Linked DNA regions of Homo sapiens: regions 1 and 3 are each linked to region 2. Evidence: promoter capture Hi-C in 16 types of primary human blood cells and fetal thymus (Javierre and others, 2016). All regions are on one chromosome and are shown on one strand. The core of a region is centred on a gene start or on the middle of the fragment in contact, and the rest is flanking DNA. Distances in the headings are between cores, read along the strand shown.

Evidence for each region. The method cuts DNA at HindIII sites, captures the fragments that hold promoters and counts their contacts. A CHiCAGO score of 5 or more calls a contact.
Region 1: a contact is called between a fragment that was not itself captured here and the fragment with the promoter of WIF1 in region 2, in 1 of 17 cell types (endothelial precursors). The highest score is 5.3, in endothelial precursors.
Region 3: a contact is called between a fragment that was not itself captured here and the fragment with the promoter of WIF1 in region 2, in 4 of 17 cell types (M1 macrophages, endothelial precursors, M2 macrophages and 1 more). The highest score is 6.5, in M1 macrophages.

What each region holds. Positions count from the first base shown.
Region 1 is chr12:64,784,483-64,787,182 of GRCh38, reverse strand. It overlaps a transcript of TBC1D30 not described here. Among named protein-coding and RNA genes, the nearest start is that of GNS, 26 kb to the right of the region's middle. The HindIII fragment of the contact is 624 bases long and covers 1,032-1,655 here.
Region 2 is chr12:65,119,911-65,122,610 of GRCh38, reverse strand. WIF1 (Wnt inhibitory factor 1) reads left to right here and starts at 1,306. Exons shown (of 10, transcript NM_007191.5): 1 at 1,306-1,567; 2 at 2,055-2,194. The coding sequence starts at 1,420. RefSeq lists a silencer at 986-1,145. The HindIII fragment of the contact is 2,494 bases long and covers 1-1,720 here.
Region 3 is chr12:64,819,565-64,822,264 of GRCh38, reverse strand. It overlaps a transcript of TBC1D30 not described here. Among named protein-coding and RNA genes, the nearest start is that of TBC1D30, 3.7 kb to the left of the region's middle. The HindIII fragment of the contact is 418 bases long and covers 1,227-1,644 here.

The DNA of each region.
Region 1 (2,700 bases), core at 94-2,593, 340 kb after region 2:
CAGCTCTTAGTTATGATTATGCAAGAGATAGGTTACATTTGCTAAACTATGTTGCCATCTTCAGATTTCAGAGCAAGTTGTTAAGGTCCTGTTACAAGAATCGATTTCTTTAAATCAATTATTTAATTCACTTACTGTAGCAACACAGAATAAGAGAAAAAGGACATGCCTTTTAGGTTATGTCTGTGTGATGCTGTTTTATTTATTTATTTTTATTTTTATTTATTTATTTTTTTTTTGAGATGGAGTTTCGCTCTTGTCGCCCAGGCTGGAGTGCAATGGTGCGATCTCGGTTCACTGCAACCTCTGCCTCCCAGGTTCAAGTGATTCTCCTGCCTCAACCTCCTGAGTAGCTGGGACTACAGGTGCCAGCCACCACGACCAGCTAATTTTTAGTAGAGATGGGGTTTCACCATGTTGGCCAGGCTGGTCTCAAACACCTGACCTCAGGTGATCCACCAGCCTCGGCCTCCAAAAGTGCTGGGATTATAGGTGTGAGCCACCACACCCAGCCAGTGATGCTGTTTTAAAAATAAAAATTTGTCCAGGCGCAGGGGCTCACGCCTGTAATCCCAGCACTTTGGGAGGCCAAGAAGGGTGAATCACCTGAGATCAGGAGTTTGAGATCAGCCTGACCAGCCTGACCAGCAAGGTGAAACCTCGTCTCTACTAAAAATACAAAAATTAGCCAGGCCTGGTGGCGGGCGCCTGTAGTTCCAGCTACTCAGGAGGCTTAGACAGGAGAATTGCCTGAACCTGGGAGGCGGAGGTTGTATTCAGCCAAGATTACGCCACTGCACTCCAGCCTGGGTGACGGAGTGAGACTCTGTTTCAAATAAATAAATAAATAAATAAAATAAAATTGTAATCATCATTCAGCATTAGGTAAAATTATTGTCAAAGTAAAGTACTACTTCAAATCTAGAATAATAAATCTAAGGTTGTAACATTAGACATGAAGTATACATTTTAACTGAAAAATAGGAAACTGTCTGAGTTGTTCCTTGTTCTTAGTTCTGAGGGTATAAGCTTGCATTTAAAACTTCTCAATATATTCACAAACACAGACTGTTGGCTCAGCTTTCCTAACATTCTAGTTGCATGTGGCAAAAGAAGTAACCCAATTCCAGTACTTACTTCTCTTCTGTGACACAGCCTGCAAGCAGGCAGTCACAATATCACAGTTCCTCTGCACTTTATGCAGAAGCCTATCTTTCTGCTTCAGATGCCGAAGTAACTTGGCCGACTGGATGCCAATTCTGTACTTTAGCTCTCGAAGGATCGTCTTCAGTTCATTAGCGTCTATCAGTAAAGAAAAATAAGAATAACGATTAATACCTTGAGAGGAATACAAATTCCAGTGTGATATTAGTCCAAAGATAAATAGAACATCCATTTAAACCAACTAATTCTAGGTTTTCACTCAAGATTACATGTATGCATTCAGCTCGGACATTCCGATCAAATAAGTCACTCATTTATCTGCCCTGTCCATGAGACAGATACTGTAAGGTAAATTTATCCTTAAGCCTATCTGTAACATGGAGCAAAAACTCCTACTTTTACCATATCTAGCTCTGGCTGCAAATTTACTTTTCATTGCCTGAAAACTGGCATGTATATTTTGTACCACTGAAGTGTTCAGATGGTAAGCTTGCTAGAAAAGAATCTTTTTTAGTCTGTTACATTAATAATAAACCTAACAGCTAATTAAAAAAAAAAAAAAGTCTTTAAAGGCCAGGCGTGGTGGCTCACACCTGTAATCCCAGCACTTTGGGAGGCCAAGGAGGGCAGATTACCTGAGGTCAGGAGTTGGAGACCAGCCTGACCAACATGGAGAAACCCCATCTCTACTAAAAATACAAAATTAACTGGGAGTGGTGGCACATGCCTGTAATCCCAGCTACTCCAGAAGCTGAGGCAGAATTGCTTGAACCCGAGAGGAGGAGGCTGCAGTGAGCCAAGATCGCGCCATTGCACTCCAGCCTGGGCAACAAGAGCGAAACTCCGTCTCAAAGAAAAAAAAAAAAAAAAAGTCTTTAAAGTACTCATCTATGTTTACAAATGATGAGCTAAAAGTAAATAATTTTACCACATTTTGTAATGTAGATGAATGTGGCAATACTGATTTTGTTTTGAATATCCAGTCTTCCAATAGCCTAAAAACATTTTGTCTTAGAGGTACAATATTTCATCTTAGAGCCTCAGCAATTTTTCAAATATGGTAGAAAATAAATTTCCTTTACACAGATAAATTACAATAATTCTACATTCATAAAACTAATATTCACAACAGCAGTTTTTTTTTTTTTACTTTATTTTACTTTAAGTTCCAGGATACATGTGCAGAGTATGCAGGTTTGTTACAGGTATACATGTGCCATGGTGGTTTGCTGCACCCATCAACCCATCACCTAGGTTTTAAGCCCCACATGCATTAGGTATTTGTTCTAATGCTCTCCCTCCCCTTAACAGCAGTTTTTCTATAGGTCAAAACAAATTTGGGAACCAGAATTGTCTACTGTCTTTATATAAATGATCATTACGATTTGGGAGGAGGTTTTTTTTGGTCACATTTGATATGATTAGTCACTAGAGCATGATCTAGTAGGCAGGCAAAGCCTTCCACTCAACTTAACCTTAGCTAGCCCCCCATTAGAGGTTCTCTGTGGGGTTTGGATCTACTCATTTTTAAAGGGA
Region 2 (2,700 bases), core at 57-2,556:
GCACCTGTGAATTCGGCAACTTTTAAAAAATTATTTTATTTATTTATTTATATATTTTTTGAGACGGAGTCTCGCTCTATCGCCCAGGCTGGAGTGCAGTGCCACGATCTTGGCTTAATGCAACCTCCGCCTCCCGGTTCAAGTGATTCTCCTGCCTCAGCCTCCCGGGTAGCTAGGACTACAGGCCCCCGCCACCATGCCCAGCTAATTTTTGCATTTTTAGTAGAGACGGGGTTTCACCACGCTGGCCAAGCTGGTCTCGAACTCCTGACCTCAGGTGATCCGCCCGCCTTGGCCTCCCAAAGTGCAGGGATTACAGGCGTGAGCCATCGCGCCCGGCCGAATTCAGCAACTTTTAAAAAATATCAGCAAACGTGAAGATATCCACGATGTTAGAGGAGCCCTACCCCGGAGGGTCAGGTACAGCTATCGTCCAGGGCCCAGGGCACTCTTCCGGGCACTGCCGGGTTATCAGGGAGACAGACGGGAATCCCCAAATGCTGGGTGTCGGGCAAGTACCAGCTGGACGCCCTGCGCCTCGAGCCAAGGCCAGCGCCTGCCATCGGCACCATCGGACAGTCGAGCCTCGAGTTTTAACTGCTTGGGAGCGCGCAAAGTGCCAGCCTATCGCAGAACGGAGCGCATAGGGTTGGCGGAGAGAGGAATCCTACTGGCTGAAAGGGAGACGAAGGGCAATTTGCGCCTTCAGTGAGCGCCGGAGGAGGAACAGGAGTCATCACCTCATCATCATCATCATCATCATCATCACCATCACCATCACCATCATCAGCACTCAGTCAAGCCCAGCGTTGTCTGCTCTCCCCATTTCCCTCCCCCGAAGCCTCCCTTGGCCCGAGGAGGTGGCGAGTGATGTCCCAGGGGTCTCTGAGTGCCCTTCTCCGGGTCCGCCAGCCCTACACGCCCACTTCGCGGGCGCTCCACTGGGCGCACCGCACTGTGAATGCAGCCTCGGGGGTCCCTCGCGGCCCCGCCCCCGGGGGGGCCCCACAGCGCCCCCAAGTGGCGGCCGCCCAGGCCTCGCGGGCCCCACTCCTCGCTCGCACCTCGCTCGCGCCAGCCCTTCCCGCTCTTCTGTTCTCGCTCTATTTGCCCCGCTGACTGCTGGCCTCGCCAGCTTTGCCAGTCTTACGTCTCTGCCGCCCCCACTCCCGCCCGCGCCCCATCTTCTTGCGCGACTCGCGCCCGCTGGTCCCCCCCTCCTCCTCCCGCGTCCTGCCTGCCCCCTCCTCCTGCTCTCGCAGGCTCCTTGGCACCCAGGCCGGGAGGCGACGCGCCCAGCCGTCTAAACGGGAACAGCCCTGGCTGAGGGAGCTGCAGCGCAGCAGAGTATCTGACGGCGCCAGGTTGCGTAGGTGCGGCACGAGGAGTTTTCCCGGCAGCGAGGAGGTCCTGAGCAGCATGGCCCGGAGGAGCGCCTTCCCTGCCGCCGCGCTCTGGCTCTGGAGCATCCTCCTGTGCCTGCTGGCACTGCGGGCGGAGGCCGGGCCGCCGCAGGAGGAGAGCCTGTACCTATGGATCGATGCTCACCAGGCAAGAGTACTCATAGGTAAGGCCCCCGCCTCCAGCGCCTTCCCCTGCCTATGTCCTCCTCTCTCCACTCTTCAAGAAAGAGGGATACCTGCGTTTCTTGTGTTTTAAAACTTAATTTCCACAAAAGAGTGTTCCCCTCTTTTAATTAGATATTTTCCATCTGAAAGCTTATAAACTTCTCTTTTAAGAAACCAAAGCTGATCTAGTGTTCTGATCATGCTGTTGTTAATTTTTATAGCCCTGCGTTTTTAGGTGCACCCGGCATTTTTTTGCGTCGGTTAACTCCATGTCCATCCCTTTTCCCTGAAAGCATGGGTCTGTTGGCATCATTCTCATCATCCACAGAGAAAAATTAATCTTAGTAGCGTTGATGGTACTGAAGGCAGATGCTTGTGAACAGAAATGACCCACACTAATTCTTTGGTTTTCTTTTTGCTTGAAACTTCTGATTTAGATGATTTCAAGTCTACCTGGTTTGATCGTTTTATTATTTTAAAAACCAGGATTTGAAGAAGATATCCTGATTGTTTCAGAGGGGAAAATGGCACCTTTTACACATGATTTCAGAAAAGCACAACAGAGAATGCCAGCTATTCCTGTCAATATCCATTCCATGAATTTTACCTGGCAAGCTGCAGGGCAGGTAAGTTCTGAGAAAATTACCCTTTAATATTTCCACTGCCTTATGGCAGGTGGAAATAGTACTGTATAGTGTGTAGCCTGGTACATTTTACAGTTATTAAGAGAAATTTCTCATCTGATTGCCAAAGCAAATAAAGAATTAATTTCCATTTATTTCAAGTTGCCATATCAATTAATGATCTTCAAAAGAAAAGAACAAGCCTTGTGCCTAAGCCCATTATTTTGATAAGACTCAGTGTCCTGAGGCTGCTGGAAATATAAAGACCTCCAATACCAACATCACTGTGTTTCTGTGATCATTGACATTAAAATTTAACATACTTAAAGGACTCTTTTTGCATAGTAGTTTCTAATCACTTGTGACATTCTTCATACTTTACAACAAATTTTAAAGTTTGTAAGTATTTTTGACATTGTGCACTTTTAAAAAGTCAGTATGTTGAATGTTATTCACTGGAACGTGAATGTTGCATATTTCTGGTAGAAGTTAGACCCAAAAGGTGTCAT
Region 3 (2,700 bases), core at 186-2,685, 300 kb after region 2:
AGGTTACAGTGAGCTATGATTGGCCACTGCACTCCAGCCTGGGTGAGAGAGCAAGACCCTGTATCAAAAGAAAAAAAAATGGCTGCTATTGATTGAAAAAATATTGAATATTTTTAAATGCCTTCATAAAGATAGCCTAAACAAGCCAGAAAAAGAAGGCATTCCTATGACGCTTCCCAGAATTTGAGGACAATGTCAGAAATGGTGCAACCCTAAGAATGAGCTGTAAAAGAATCTATTAAAAATGAGATGAGCCATCTGCAAAAGTAAAGCAGGCTAATAAAGGACATGCAAGCTATTCAGTTGTAGCTGCCTGGCAGAGGTAAAGATGCTTTCAAAAGGGCAGTACTCTTTGAAAAGGCATCACTTTAGAAAATGAAGTCACTGTTTAAGCTGGTCATGACTAATTGCTTGGCTTAAATTTCCCAACCTTTTGCTGCGAGCTCCGGTACAGAAATTTATCCTCCATCAACCATCAACTTTTTACAGTTTTGGTACATGTTTGTATCCTTCAGCTTTGTATTAATTTTAATAAGACACTCATTGGCTGTTGCAGCCTATCTCAGTTGTACTGAGAGCCATAGGAAGAGGTCTGATGCTTCCCTTTGACCAGTTTTTTAGAGGGCACAGTATACCCTGGGGCTGAAGATGGTGATGAACACCCGAAGTCAAAGAGAGGGAACTGGCAGGAGAGGGAAAATCCAGCAGGACAAGTTGGTAACTGCATGCACAGTCTCGTCTTCCAGACCTCTCATATGCTCAAATCTTAGAGGGTTTTGTGTTCTATTTTAACAAGAGAGGCTATTCATGCTCGGTTTCCATCACTAGGCAAGCCAAGAGGACAAGCAATCAGCTCTGTTCTACAACACTGTCTCTGGAGTGGAGAGGAGGACGTCCTGCCCCTGGGGCTGTGACATATGCCACTCAGACCATCCAACTCCCTTTGGCTCTGACGTCATGCTCACCAAGCAAACTTTGGATTGTCATTTGATTTCCCATATAGACTCTGCTGCAGCACAGAGAATATACTGACCAGTTAATAGCAGTCAATACCCCTGAGTTCACTTACCAGTCAGTAACCTGAAGACACCAAATTTCCAGACTGCCAAAGCTGACATCTAGACTCTAGGCTGTCAACTCACCCATGTGTCATGACTGATAAAAAGACCTCTCTTTAGATTCTTCTTTACTTGTAATACTTTTCTTTACTAGTAGTGACAGAAGCTTGTTTGCTTGCAAAAGGAACATTCAATTTCACCTCTTTTAGATCTATTACGAGGAAAATCTAACTCTGTTTTTAAAATAAAATTTAAGAGTTTCTGCTATGATGGCAATAAACAGCAAAGGAATTAGATAATATTATTTTGTTTACATTGGAGAGGAAAGTCAGGACTGCCAACTTTTATAGCAAACAGATAATTACATGAGCACTAAAACACAATACTCTAAAAGCAGCGATGGCCCAAGCCTAGTATTATGTTGATTGTGTGACTCACAGTTTTTTATTTCATGTCTGGAATATTGTTTTACAAACGTGAAAGATGTCATCTAAAGTCAACTTACAGAGAACTCAAGCCAGCATGGACTTTGCCTGAGAATCTCAGGAGCCAGGCCAATTTACCATTATTCTTTACTAATCAAGCTTTACCAATCAAATAATAGTGAATTCACATTTGGGCAAATTATACACTGCCACAGTCTACAATGGTTATGACTTATGCTGAATTTAGGGGAAGGAAGGCTTAATGAACACTTCACATTGGATGAGATAATGTTATTTGGATTGCTAAAGAAAATGAAGGCTTTGAGGAAATGCCCCGAATGTCACAGAGCTAATAACCTGAGGACATCCCCCACAGATGTGAGCTCCCAGGCTGAAACAAAAAAAAGTATGGACCATTCGGCATACCCTGCATCTTCAGGCCTACATGCTGGGAATGAGGTTTCCTTGAGAGCGAACTTTTCCTTTAATGGGAGAAGGGGGAAGAAGTCAGTAAGAAAAGAAAGCCCAACACAAGGAATAAAAACTATGTCCCAAGGGGCTTCCAGAAGGGGAAGTGGGTCTGAGACCTGTGATTTCCTAATGCTGCTATTTTTTTTGTTTAACAGTAAAGTCTTAAAATAAAAAGGGCCTACGTGCTTATCTTCAGGGACTGACAATTACCAAGAGAAAAGGCCCTGGAAGCCTGCTATGAGGAGAGAGAGACCACAGGGAGCCAGCCTGCTCTGGGGAAGTGGGCCTGGAACTCATCTGTACAGCTGCGGAGTTCCCTGGCAGGTGCTGATATGCACACAAGCTGAGCATCAGAGATCTCATCAGACCACCAGATCTAGTGCTGTCTCCCATTCGGCAGGAGATGGGGACATTTTGCACCTGTGATAATAAAAAGAATGGAGGTCTGGTGGCATAAAAGCCACTCTTCCTCCTCTCTCCTCATCCCACAATTTTTGAACATGTGTAAACAGCTCCTGAATAGTGAAGTGGCGTCTGCTAACCAGACAAGATCTGTGGCCTTTTCTACAAGAAGTTAACACTTTCCTCAGACCTACTAAAGTAGGGACTTAACAAGTAGTTCCTTCAAGGCCGAGTGCAGTGGCTCATGCCTATAATCTCAGCACTTCGGGAGACTGACCAGCCTGGCCAACATGGTGAAACCCCATCTCTACTAAAAATACAAAAATTAGCTGGGTGTGGTGGCG